2 separate regions of the Homo sapiens genome follow, and region 2 is linked to region 1. Evidence: promoter capture Hi-C in human tissues and cell types (Jung and others, 2019). All regions are on one chromosome and are shown on one strand. Each heading gives the region's core, a stretch centred on a gene start or on the middle of the fragment in contact. The rest is flanking DNA. Distances are from core to core; before and after follow the strand shown.

What was found. The method cuts DNA at HindIII sites, captures the fragments that hold promoters and counts their contacts. A contact is called where the count stands out against the background at its distance.
Region 2: a contact is called between a fragment that was not itself captured here and the fragment with the promoter of KBTBD7 in region 1, in 1 of the 25 tissues and cell types used here (pancreas).

Annotation. Positions count from the first base shown.
Region 1 is chr13:41,192,322-41,199,007 of GRCh38, reverse strand. It overlaps KBTBD7 (kelch repeat and BTB domain containing 7), which reads left to right and starts at 4,439. Exons shown (of 1, transcript NM_032138.7): 1 at 4,439-6,686. The coding sequence starts at 4,751. All of the region lies in intron 3 of KBTBD6-DT (KBTBD6 divergent transcript), which reads right to left. RefSeq lists enhancers at 4,269-4,358, 4,669-4,938, 4,283-4,989, 4,990-5,697. The HindIII fragment of the contact is 7,226 bases long and covers 561-6,686 here.
Region 2 is chr13:41,158,972-41,165,179 of GRCh38, reverse strand. It overlaps KBTBD6-DT (KBTBD6 divergent transcript), which reads right to left. Exons shown (of 4, transcript NR_120423.1): 3 at 2,777-2,917. Among named protein-coding and RNA genes, the nearest start is that of KBTBD6-DT, 29 kb to the right of the region's middle. The HindIII fragment of the contact is 7,292 bases long and covers 25-6,208 here.

The DNA of each region.
Region 1 (6,686 bases), core at 3,190-5,689:
ATTTGGATTGTTTCTACTTCTGGATACTATGGATAAAGCTACTGTTACGCAGCATAATGCTTAGTGACCTAAGTGAATTTCTACTCTACCTTAACTCTGCTTATGCCTGAGATCAGAAGTTCCCCATTGTGACCAAACTGGCAGAGACTGGTGGACAAAATATCAGCTCACTTGACCTCTGAAGAACTTCTAACTTCATTATGATCTAATCTCTATGTTAAATGACACTCCTGCCAGCTGCATGACAGTTGACAATCACCATGACAATGATCAGAAGAAACCATAAAAGGACAAAAAGTAATGTGGCACTCTGGTTTCCGAGTTCTTCACACATGCCAAGAAAACACACGAATATTCCTCCGTTTGCTTTTTCTTTTTTGAGAAGGAGTCTTGCTCTGTTGCCCAGGCTGGAGTCCAGTGGTGTGATCTGGGCTCACTGCAACCTCTGCCTCCCAGATTCAAGTGATTCTCCTGCCTCAGCCTCCTGAGTAGCTGGGATTACAGGTGTCCGTCACCACATCCAGCTAATTTTTGTATTTTAGTAGAGACGGGGTTTCACCATGTTCCCCAGGCTGATCTGGAACTCCTGGGCTCAAGTGATCTGCCCGCCTTGGCCTCCCAAAGTGCTGGAATTACAGGTGTGAGCCACTGTGCCCAGCCCCACCCCTTGCTTTTAATACCCATCCCCTTCATTAAAGATGCCCTATATCTATGACTTCCCGGCTCTCAGAAGCTGAGAAATTGATTTGTGAGCCATGCTCCTGCTTCTCAAATCCATGGCCATGGAATAAAACCTGCACTGCTTGATGCTCACTTTCAGTTTCGCATCTTGGCTTCATGACATAGAACAGGGAAAAATCTCATCTTCACAGGACCAGCTTTGTCATTAACACTATTATGAAGATACTTATACAAGTGTTTTTGTGGATATATGTTTTCATTTCCCTGAGGCAACTGCCTGGGAGTGAAATTACACGGCGTTTAACATTAAAAGAAACTACAAAAGAATTTTCTAATGTGGTTATACCAATTTATATTCCTATTATTAGCATATGAGAGTTCCAACGGCTCCATATCTCCACTAATATATAGTATCATTGATGTTTTTAAGTTAAGGCATTCTAGTGGGTATTCAGTGTTTTCTTATTGTGAATTTAATGTGCATTGGCCACCGGGTATACATGTTACCAATATTTTTTCCCAGTCTGTGGTTTATCTTTTGTTGTTTTCACTGCCTTTCCATAGGCAGCAGCTTGTAATTTTGTTGAAATTCACTTTTGAAATTCACTTTGTCTTTTTTTTATGATCTGTGTTTTTGGTGTCCCAAGAAAACTTTGCCAACCGCAAAGCTATAGTCTTCTATGTTTTCTTTTCTTTTCTTTTTTTTTTTTTTCTGAGACGGAGTCTCGCTCTGTCGCCCAGGCTGGAGTGCAGTGGCGCAATCTTGGCTCACTGCAAGTTACGCCTCCTGGATTCATGCCATTCTCCTGCCTCAGTCTCCTGAGTAGCTGGGCCTACAGGTGTCTGCCACCATGCCCAGCTAATTTTTTGTATTTTTAGTAGAGACAGGGTTTCACCGTGTTAGCCAGGATGGTCTCAATCTCCTGACCTCATGATCCGCCTGCCTCAGCCTCCCAAAGTGCTGGGATTACAGGTGTGAGCCACTGCACCCGGCCCTATGTTTTCTTTTTGAAGCTTTATAGTTTCCACTTTTCCATTTAGTATTAGGAGAAATTTTGAATTAATTTTTTGCTTATGGTGTAAGGTAGGGGCAAGGGCAACTTTCTGTCTTACATTCTTGATCCAGTTGTTCCAATAACATTTGTTGAAAAGAATTTTCTTTCTTCATTGAATTGCATTGGTATCATGCTGTATTTCTAAAATTTTAAATTTAATTCCTCAGTTGCACTAGCCACATTTCACGTACCCAAGAGCTACATGTGGCTTCTGGCTACTGTATCAGCCAGCACAAATATAAAATATTCCCAAGTTTTATGGGACAGCACATAGCTCTAGATCTTAGGGAATAGTGCCTAATAGATATCTTCAATTGTGTGACAGGTAACCTAAACCAAATAACACAGTAAGAGCAGATATAAGGAAGGTAAAAATCAGTCACTGCCTATATGAGGTACCTAGAGTAGTCAAAAGTCATAGAGACAAAGAGTAGAATGGCAGTTGCCAGAAGTGGGGGCTAGAGAGTTATTGTTTAAATGGGTACAGAGCTTCAGTTTTGTGATAGTGGCAAAACCGTGTGAATATATTTAATGCTAAAGAACTATACACTGAAAATGTTTAAATGGTAAATTTAGTGTTATGTATATTTTACCAATATTTTAAGAAGTTTTTTAAAATGGCCATTCCTGCGCTGGGCATGTGGCTCATGCCTGTAATTGCAGCAACTCAGAGGCTCAGGCAGGAAGAGTGCTTGACACCAAGATTTCCAGACCAGGCTGGCAACACAGTGAGACCCTGTCTATAATTTTTTTTTAATTAACTGGGTGTGGTGGTATGCATCTATAGCTCTAGTTACTTGGGAGGCTGAGGGCAAAGTATTGCTTGAGCACTGGAGTTTGAGGCAGCAGTGAGCTATTATGGTGCCACTGCACTCCAACCTGGGTGACAGGGCAAGACCCCATCTCAAAAAAAAAAAAAAAAAAGAAAAAAAAAAGGCTTTTTTCCCCAGCTGGTATTCACTGCAAGTCAGGAAACAATCATTGTTACTGATAATGACTGACTTGATTCTCTCTGGTGTATCTGAGGGATATCTAACATCTCTTTTTATTTACAGAGGAGTTATTAGAGCCCAGAGGCTGACTTAATTTAATGTGTCTACCCTAGAGTATTTCCAGTGGACTTCAGCTGATAAGTTGAAGTTATCTTCAGCTGATAAGAGAAAAACAATTTGAAAGTTATTCTCTTGTAATGTGTTATCCATACATGCATGTAACACTGATGATTTTCTTTATTAGGTTATGGTAACATAACAAACTAGCAGCAGGAGCAGTCATGGTTTTGTAATAAAAGTTATCTGAAAAAGTCTGTTACTGGTGGAGGGTGTCCAGGTTCTTGGCGTTTTGGACAAAAAATTGGACAAAACACATAAACAAAGCAAGGAAACAATGAAACAACAAAAGCAGAGATTTACTGAAAATGAAAGTACACTCCACAGTGGGGAGCGGGCCTGAGCATAGGGGCTCAAGGGCCCTGTTACAGAATTTCTGAAGGTTTAAATACCCTCTAGAGGATTCCACTGGTTACTTGGTGTACACCCTATGTAAATGAAGAGAATGAAGTAAAGTTACAAACTCATTTACTCAGCATACACCCTATGGAGAGGATCTTTCCTGTTATAGCTAAAGTGTGAATCAGCCTTATGTTCCCTGCCTCCAGACCCTATTTTCCTGCCTCAAATCTCTAATACTTGATTTTGATGATTTAACTGTTGATCCCAATGCAAATATAAAAGACTTTGTAAAGCATAGACTATACTATATATTAATTCAAGGAATGTCAGGGCATGTACTGATGTTGAATTCTGAGAATCATGTGCTTTTGTACAGAACAAAGTCTGTTTGTTGAAATATTTTGAGTTAAAATACTCCCTAAAACTCCTTAATAAAGGGAATTACATAATCTGTTAATTGATTTGTGGAACGGCAGTGAAAGAGGCTGTATTAGACGACTTGAAAACACTCATATTTGGAGCTTAACGAAAATACTCCTGCTCTCCAGAGATGAAATGTTAGTGAGAGCAGCAAATAATTTATTTTTATATGCTGGATTTGCGTATTTGAGACCATCTATTAATACTGTTCTTTAGGACCTCAACCTAGTCGTCTAAGACATCCTTATTAAACGAGACCAATAGATATCATTTAATATTGAAAATATTGTTAATGCCCTTCAAAATCTTTCGAAGGAATAAACATTAAAAACTAGAAATTCTTTGTAAAATTTTGCGGTTTAAAATAATACTCGGTTTCAAATTAGTGGGTGCCTCATTTATCATAAATTATAAAAGAGAATCTAACAGTTATTGGCTACATTCTAGGCACGGGGTAACGCTTTACTATTCTTCTAACCAAAAACATACATGTATCTAAGTATCCCATGTAAGGTATCATTGAACCACACAAAACCCTATGAAATACTGGCAGGGGGCGGTGGCTCACGCCTGTAATCCCAGCACATTGAGAGGCCGAGGCAGGAGGATAATTTGAGCCCTCAGGAGTTCAAGACCAGCCTGGGCAACAGTCTCTTCACCATCAAATCCAGGAGAATTAATTTCTACTGTTAGAGCAGTCAACTAAAGGACAGCTCGCGATATTACACAAACTACTACTCCCAACATGCAAAGCGGTTTCTTTCCCTCTGTCCCCGCCCGGCCGTCCGAGAGCCCCAGCAGGCCTCGGGGCGCGAAAGGCAACCTGGGAGCAGTAGTTCTCCCGGGCGCCTAGCGGGATCGCCAGCGCGGCAGTGGGGGCTTCCGCGGCTGCAAGCCAGCGGGTCCTGTGAGGGCGAGCGGAGGCGGAGAAAGGGCGCGGGAGTGAGAGAGGGTGAGTCAGCCACTGTCTATGCAATAAAGGGAGGCCTCACCGCGGGATAGGGCTGAATTCAGAAGTGCGGCCCGTGCCGCAGTCTGTTCCAGGACGCGGCTTGTCTTAGCGTCAGCGAGGGAAGGTTGAGGAGGAGCCAGAGCCTGGTCCTGCAGCCTTTCTCGCCGTCAGCGCCCGTCGCCATCTCCACCATGCAGTCCCGGGAAGACGTCCCGCGCTCTCGCCGCCTCGCCAGTCCCCGTGGTGGGAGGCGGCCCAAGAGGATTTCCAAGCCCTCGGTTTCGGCCTTTTTCACGGGTCCAGAGGAGTTAAAGGACACGGCCCATTCTGCAGCCCTGCTGGCACAGCTCAAGTCCTTCTACGACGCGCGGCTGCTGTGTGATGTGACCATCGAGGTGGTGACGCCTGGCAGCGGGCCTGGCACGGGTCGCCTCTTTTCCTGCAATCGCAACGTGCTAGCAGCTGCGTGTCCCTACTTCAAGAGCATGTTCACAGGTGGCATGTACGAGAGCCAGCAGGCCAGCGTGACCATGCACGATGTGGACGCCGAGTCCTTCGAGGTGTTGGTCGACTACTGCTACACGGGTCGTGTGTCTCTCAGTGAGGCCAATGTGCAGCGCCTGTACGCGGCCTCCGACATGCTACAGCTGGAATATGTGCGGGAAGCCTGTGCCTCCTTCTTAGCCCGACGTCTTGACCTGACCAACTGCACCGCCATCCTCAAGTTTGCAGACGCCTTCGACCATCACAAGCTTCGATCTCAGGCCCAGTCCTACATAGCTCACAACTTCAAGCAGCTCAGCCGAATGGGTTCAATTCGGGAGGAGACTCTAGCAGATCTAACCCTGGCCCAGCTGCTGGCTGTCCTACGCCTGGATAGTCTGGACATAGAGAGTGAGCGGACTGTATGCCATGTAGCTGTGCAGTGGCTGGAGGCTGCTGCCAAAGAGCGGGGTCCCAGTGCTGCAGAAGTCTTCAAGTGCGTGCGCTGGATGCACTTCACTGAAGAAGATCAGGACTACTTAGAAGGGCTGCTGACCAAGCCCATCGTGAAGAAGTACTGCCTGGACGTTATTGAAGGGGCCCTGCAGATGCGCTATGGTGACCTGTTGTACAAGTCTCTGGTGCCAGTGCCAAACAGCAGCAGCAGCAGTAGCAGCAGCAACTCTCTTGTATCTGCAGCAGAAAATCCACCCCAGAGACTGGGTATGTGTGCCAAGGAGATGGTGATCTTCTTTGGACATCCTAGAGATCCCTTTCTCTGCTATGACCCTTACTCGGGGGACATTTACACAATGCCATCCCCTTTGACCAGCTTTGCTCACACTAAGACTGTCACCTCCTCAGCTGTCTGTGTGTCCCCAGACCATGACATCTATCTAGCTGCTCAGCCCAGGAAAGACCTCTGGGTGTATAAACCAGCTCAGAATAGTTGGCAGCAACTTGCAGATCGCTTGCTGTGTCGTGAGGGCATGGATGTGGCATATCTCAATGGCTACATCTACATTTTGGGGGGACGAGACCCTATTACTGGAGTTAAGTTGAAGGAAGTGGAATGCTACAGTGTTCAGAGAAACCAGTGGGCATTGGTGGCTCCTGTCCCTCATTCCTTCTATTCCTTTGAACTCATAGTGGTTCAGAACTATCTTTATGCTGTCAACAGTAAGCGCATGCTTTGCTATGATCCTAGCCACAATATGTGGCTGAACTGTGCTTCTCTTAAACGTAGTGACTTTCAGGAAGCATGTGTCTTCAATGATGAAATCTATTGTATCTGTGACATCCCAGTCATGAAGGTCTACAACCCAGCTAGGGGAGAATGGAGGCGGATTAGTAATATTCCTTTGGATTCAGAGACCCACAACTACCAGATTGTCAATCATGACCAAAAGTTGCTTCTCATCACTTCTACAACCCCACAATGGAAAAAGAACCGAGTGACAGTGTATGAGTATGATACTAGGGAAGATCAGTGGATTAATATAGGTACCATGTTAGGCCTTTTGCAGTTTGACTCTGGCTTTATTTGCCTTTGTGCTCGTGTTTATCCTTCCTGCCTTGAACCTGGTCAGAGTTTTATTACTGAGGAAGATGATGCACGGAGTGAGTCTAGTACTGAATGGGACT
Region 2 (6,208 bases), core at 2,421-4,920, 33 kb after region 1:
TTTGTCAAAGGATATTCTCAAGAAAGTAAAAAGACAACAACAGAATGGAAGAACATATTTGCAAATTATATATCTCATAAGGGTCTAACATCCAGAATATGTAAAGAATTCTTACAACTCAACAACAAAAAGACAACCCAACTTAAAAATGGGCAAAGGACTTAGACATTTTTCCAAAGATGATAAACAAATGGACAACAAGTACATGAAAAGATGCTCAAGATCATTAGTCATTGGGGAAATGCAAATCAAAACCACAATGAAATACAGCTTCATACCCACTAGAAATGGGTATAATTATACAACTATGGCTACTAAAAAGGATGAGATGGGGAAATAGCAAGTGTTGGTGAAGATGTCGAGAAATTCAAACCTTTGTACATTCCTGGTGGGAACGTAAAATGGTTCAGCCTCTAAGGAAAACAATTTGTTAATTCCTCAGTAAATTACATATAGAATTACCATATAACCCAGCAATGTCACTTCTAAGTATATATCCCAAAGAATTGGCAACAGGTATTTTAACAAATACTTGTACACGAATTAATGTTCATAGCAGCCCTATTTGCAATAGCCAAAAGGAGGTGGAAACATCCCAAGTGTCCATCAATTGATGAGTGAAAAAAACCAAAATGTGGCATATTTATTCAATAGAATATTATTCAGCCATAAAAAGGAATGAAGTACTGATACACTCTACAACAAGGATTAACCTCAAAGGCAAATAAAATGTTCACTTCAAAATTGTTAATTTTACATTATGTGAAATTCACCTCAATCACCAATTCCACACAGTGGAATTTCACAGTGAGCAAGCCTATGCAAACCAACCACTAAATTCCAAGGAAGCGGAGAATTCAAAGAAAGAGGCTTACATATCCAGTTTCTCAGGAAGAAACTTTCCTTCCTTCCTTCCTTCCTCCCTTCCTTCCTTTTCTTTTTCTCCTTCTCCTTCTCCTTCTTCTCTCTCTCTCTCTCTTTCTTGTTTTTTGAGACAGAGTCTCACTCTGTCACCAGGCTGGAGTGCAGTGGCATGATCTCAGCTCACTGCAACCTCCAATTCCCTAGTTCAAGCAATTCTCCTGCCTCAGCCTCCTGAGTAGCTGGGATTACAGGCATGCGCCACCACGCCCCGCTAATTTTTGTATTTTTTGTAGAGACAGGGTTGCACCATGTTGGCCAGGATGGTCTCGATCTCCTGACCTCGTGATCCGCCCGCCTCGGCCTCCCAAAGTGCTGGGATTACAGGCGTGAGCCACCATGCTCGGCCTCTTCTCTTGTCTTGTCTTCTCTTCTCTCTCTCTTTCTCTCTCTCTTTCCCTCTTTCTTTCCCTCCCTCCCTCCCTTCCTTCCCTCCTTCCTTCCCTCCTTCCTTCCTCTCTCTCTTTCCTTTCTCTCTCTCTTTCCTTCCAGACAGGCTCTCACTGTGTCACCTAGGCTGAAGTGCAGTGGCATGATCACAGCTCACTGCACCCTTGAACTCCTGGCTCAAGCAATCCTCATGCCTCAGCCTCTGTAGCTAGGACTAGAGACATGTGTCTCCATGCCCAGCTAACTTTTTTGTGTTTTGTAAAGGGAGGAGGGGGGTCTCACTATGTTGCTCAGGCTGGTCTTGAACTCTTGGCCTCAAGTGTTCCTCCTACTTTGCCTCCCAAAGTGCTGGGATTATAGGTGTGAGCCACTGCACCTGACAGAAACATTTAATAGTGACTTATGAATAGAAACCATGTCTGTGTCTCAGGTAGTGTGGAGACAGGTTGGTGGATCCCCACGCCATTACACCCAGAACCAAGGCCTATATACCATGGGGAAAGGGTATATGTGATACAGAAGTGATGTGTAGGAAAATTATTCAAGGGCAGGACTTAAGGTAAGTACATGATCTTACACAAGGAACAGTAAGCAAAATAAATAATTAAAAAAAAACCTTAGAGGCCTTTTTGGAAATGGGGTTAATCAGAACTCAATATGGCAGATCAACATCCAAGATGGAGTTGCTTTAGCCCCCACACTCCATCCCTCTTAATCTCACACACCCTCCTCTTCTGGGCCTTTAGGGAAAGTGCTTGACATTGCACAACTTTAGCAGCAGTGGGTTGGCAGGGAAAACAGATCAGACCCAGTAGCATTCCAAATTAGGGAGATTCACAGGCTTTGGTTTGTCATCTCTAGTCATTGGAATACCGTGACTTTGGTTTTCTTGGAAGAAGTAAAAGTAGAGATATATAACATTAATAATTTGAATAGTAGAAATATAATGCACACAAGGATTATAATAAAAAAGGGCATGAAGACAATTAAATCTCGGTTTTTCTTTAGAAATTTGTAGCCAGGAAATAATTCAGGATTCAGTTTGAATTATAGGCAAATAATAAAACTCAGAAACAATCATTAAGGCTACAGTCTAATAATGAGCATACTATAGTTTTCTTCTGAAACATAGTTTTTCTCAACAGTTTTCCCATTTCTACTAAGGATAAATCAAAGTAGGGCCAATTTACTTGTGAAATAAATTTAGTCTCATTAACTTGACCTGACTATTTGCATAAAGTGCAGGGATTGGCCATATTGGCTCCTTTTAAGATGGCTTCACTGGGACACTTTTCATAAGGAATCTCAGATTAGACTTCTATAAGCCCTGAGGCTAACCAAGTCAAGGATTCGCTATCCGATTGTGCCTGTCATACCTGTATGAATGGGTGTATTCCTCTCTTCTTGAGGCCCAAAAATAACTTGAGGTTCCTGGGCCTGCCAGAAAGTGACATTTTTTACTTACCAGAGGTAGGCTGGCCTTTCTGTGGGGGTTTTATCAGCTCTGCAACATCAGCCTCATTTCCTCAAAGCAATGTGGTCATATCTGAAAATATGCCATTCCAGTCAAGGCCTTGATAGAAGAACCTGTGTCTCCAATTGTGTCCTGTTACAAAAGAAAACAGATTCTTACTGAACTTATGCAAATAACTGTATTCCCATGTCATACGAATATATGAATAGTTTCCAGTTTTGGAGATATCAGGTAGAGAGACAGGTAAATTTTGTTCACAATAGTATACTTTACAATTAGAGTAGCAGCCTTCCAAACAGGATATTGTCCTTTCACCTTGGAACTGCCATCCACAAACCAAGCAGCTCTTTGTCAGTCAGGTGAGAGCTGTTTATTGGGCACTGTAGAATCCAGCAGCCCCTCACACAGTTTCAGAGTGACTCCTAGGGAAAAAGAGACTCCCTGCTCCTATCTCCTCCTTGCATCCTTCAAATAGCAGGATACTACACAAATCATTCCCATTTTATTGGTGGGACCCTTTTGGGTGCTGCTATCCTCATTAGAGTGTTTCTCTGACATTCAGACATTACTATTTCAGGTGTCAAGGCCATTTTATGCCCTTCAATCATAGCAGTAGCTTCAGCTAACATCCAATTACAAGGCAGCAAATACCCCCAAATGAAAATTCTCTAGTGAAGGTGCTCATAGACTTTTGCCATAAGCCCCAATAAAAATTCTACAAGGAGCTATCCAGTGGATAATTTGTTCCCTACCAGCACTTCAGCTTCTACTCTATACTTTGTGGGCTTGGTCAGTCTTACTGGTTCCCACTGAGCATGTCCAATTAGTATTGCTCAAAGGGAAGATTTACATGCTTTCTAGTTCACAGTACTAGGAAGGGGAATCATCCTCCAGTCATATACAATGTCCATTCCCAGAAAACATTTAGGTAAAGGAGACACAGCTACTTTACATAAAGCCTGTTCAAACATTTTAACTCTTAAAATCCTATTGACCCTTACATTTTATGTTGTAGTCCCAGGAAACTTTTTCTCCACCCTAGACCATTTTACCCTTTCTTGTGAAAAAGGATCTGAGTTCCCAACAGGGAGCTGAGCCAAGGCACTTGGGCTCATTGGTCAATCCTTATCTTGATTAACTGCCTCAACATTGCCCCAATTTTTGGTCAGCTTTCTCACTGTAATCTTTACCTTCTGATTTTTTTTCTTAAATTTCACAAATCTGGGGCAAATACAGAAAACTGATTTGGGCTCTATAATGTTTGTAGACAGGCAGGGCTCCCTCTTTGATAGTGTTGTATTAAGACCTTTGTTTTAACCCCATCAATTTGTTTTATTTATCCCATTTTTAATAACTATTTAAACATGTTTACCCTGCTGGGATGAGTCCCATGACTCTCCCCTTTCTTTTTCCTTTTAGTTTCACCCTTATCAATGCTCTCTGTATTCTTTTTTTTTTTTTTTTTTCTGACATGGAGTCTTGCTCTTGTCACCCAGGCTGGAGTGCAATGACGTGATCTTGGCTCGCTGCAACCTCCACCGCCCGGGTTCAAGCGATTCTCCTGCCTCAGCCTCCTGAGTAGCTGGGATTACAGGCGCCTGTCACCACGCCCAGCTAATTTTTGTATTTTTGTAGAGACATGGTTTCGCCATGTTGGCCAGGCTGGTCTCTAACTCCTGACCTCGTGATCCACCTGCCTCAGCCTCCCAAAGTGCTGGGATTACAGGCGTGAGCCACTGTGCCCAGACTATTCATCTTATTTCTTAATAAACATTTAAAAATTTACACCCTTCTGGGAGGAGTCTTTTGACTCTCTGCTCTAACCTTCACCATGTTCTTGTTAATTAACCTAACTTTTAAAATTAATACCTGTAAGACCCATCAAGGAAAGCTGAGACAACAAGTTTGATAAGGCTTCTAGGACTCTTGTTCCATTTTTCAGGAGTGATGTCATTACATGTGGTACCTTTCATGCGTGTCCGTGTGAAGAGACCACCAAACAGGCTTTGTGTGAGCAACATGGCTGTTTATTTCACCTGGGTGCAGGCGGGCTGAGTCCGAAAAGAGAGTCATCGAAGGGAGATAAGGGTGGGGCCGTTTTATAGGATTTGGGTAGGTAAAGGAAAATTACAGTCAAAGGGGGTTTGTTGTCTGGCGGGTAGGAGTGGGGTTCGCAAGGTGCTCAGTGGGCAGGAGTGGGGGTCGCAAGGTGCTCAGTGGGGGTGCTTTTTGAGCCAGGATGAGCCAGGAAAAGGACTTTCACAAGGTAATGTCATCAGTTAAGGCAAGGACCGGCCATTTACACTTCTTTTGTGGTGGAATGTCATCAGTTAAGGTGGGGCAAGGCATATTCACTTCTTTTGTGATTCTTCAGTTACTTCAGGCCATCTGGGCGTATACATGCAAGTCACAGGGGATGCGATGGCTTGGCTTGGGCTCAGAGGCCTGACAGTACCCGTGTAGAAGGGGTCCCCTTAACCACAGCATTTACCATAACCTGGGTAACAGGCATATTCAGTGGGTGAATATACTGGTCCTCATAAAGCCAATCCCACATGGCTTGCACATGCTTCATCTGAATTACCCAACTTGGTATTTACAGGGGGAGTTGAACAGACCCCCTTTTCGGGGTAAAAAGATCTTACAGTGGCTTTTATCCAGTCCACCAGCCCAGTTCTTCTCTCAGGAATAACCTATGTGTCTGGATCATATATATGAATCTGCAATTGTTCTATAGTGACCTGTGGGTCCTGCATCACCCAAACATGTTTTTCCACTGTGCAGCATTTCAAACCAAAGCCACTGCTTCCAAATTAGTTACTCTCATAATCCATTTTGGTAAAAGTTCCTCAGGGAGCTGCTGATACTGTTGTACAAAATGGAATGATTCCTTCATACTATACCCTATGGTTTCAACTGTTGCTTGCTTTTGCCCTTCTGCCACATTGACTACCCACAAGTATCAAAGGTACTTTCTGTTGTGCTGGCATACTTTTTCTCCCTTGTGGGTAGATTTGAGGCTAAGAATCTGAGCTCAGACAGACCCATATCTGAGGTTGGTCCAGGCTCAAGCCCCAACCAGGCACTCTCTTTTACTTTCATTTTAGCTTTTATAGATAACAATAACTAAAAGGAAAATAAAATCTTAAGTCCCCCAAATCACAATGCCAAAGGTAAACATAAAGCTTGGGAACAGATTCATGCAAAAATGGCCTTCCTTTTGTTCCTAAACAGAAAGCTGCAATGATAGAAGGCCACATCTCTCTCCAGGTAGCCTCCCTCACAAATTTCTCTCAAGGAAATTCCTTGTGGGCCCCCAAATCTGTCAGAATAAATATCCCTTCAATAACCCTAAAACCCTCAATGCCACACGAAGCACCTAAAAAAAAAGTATCAAGTATCATAGGATAGAACATGGGCCTA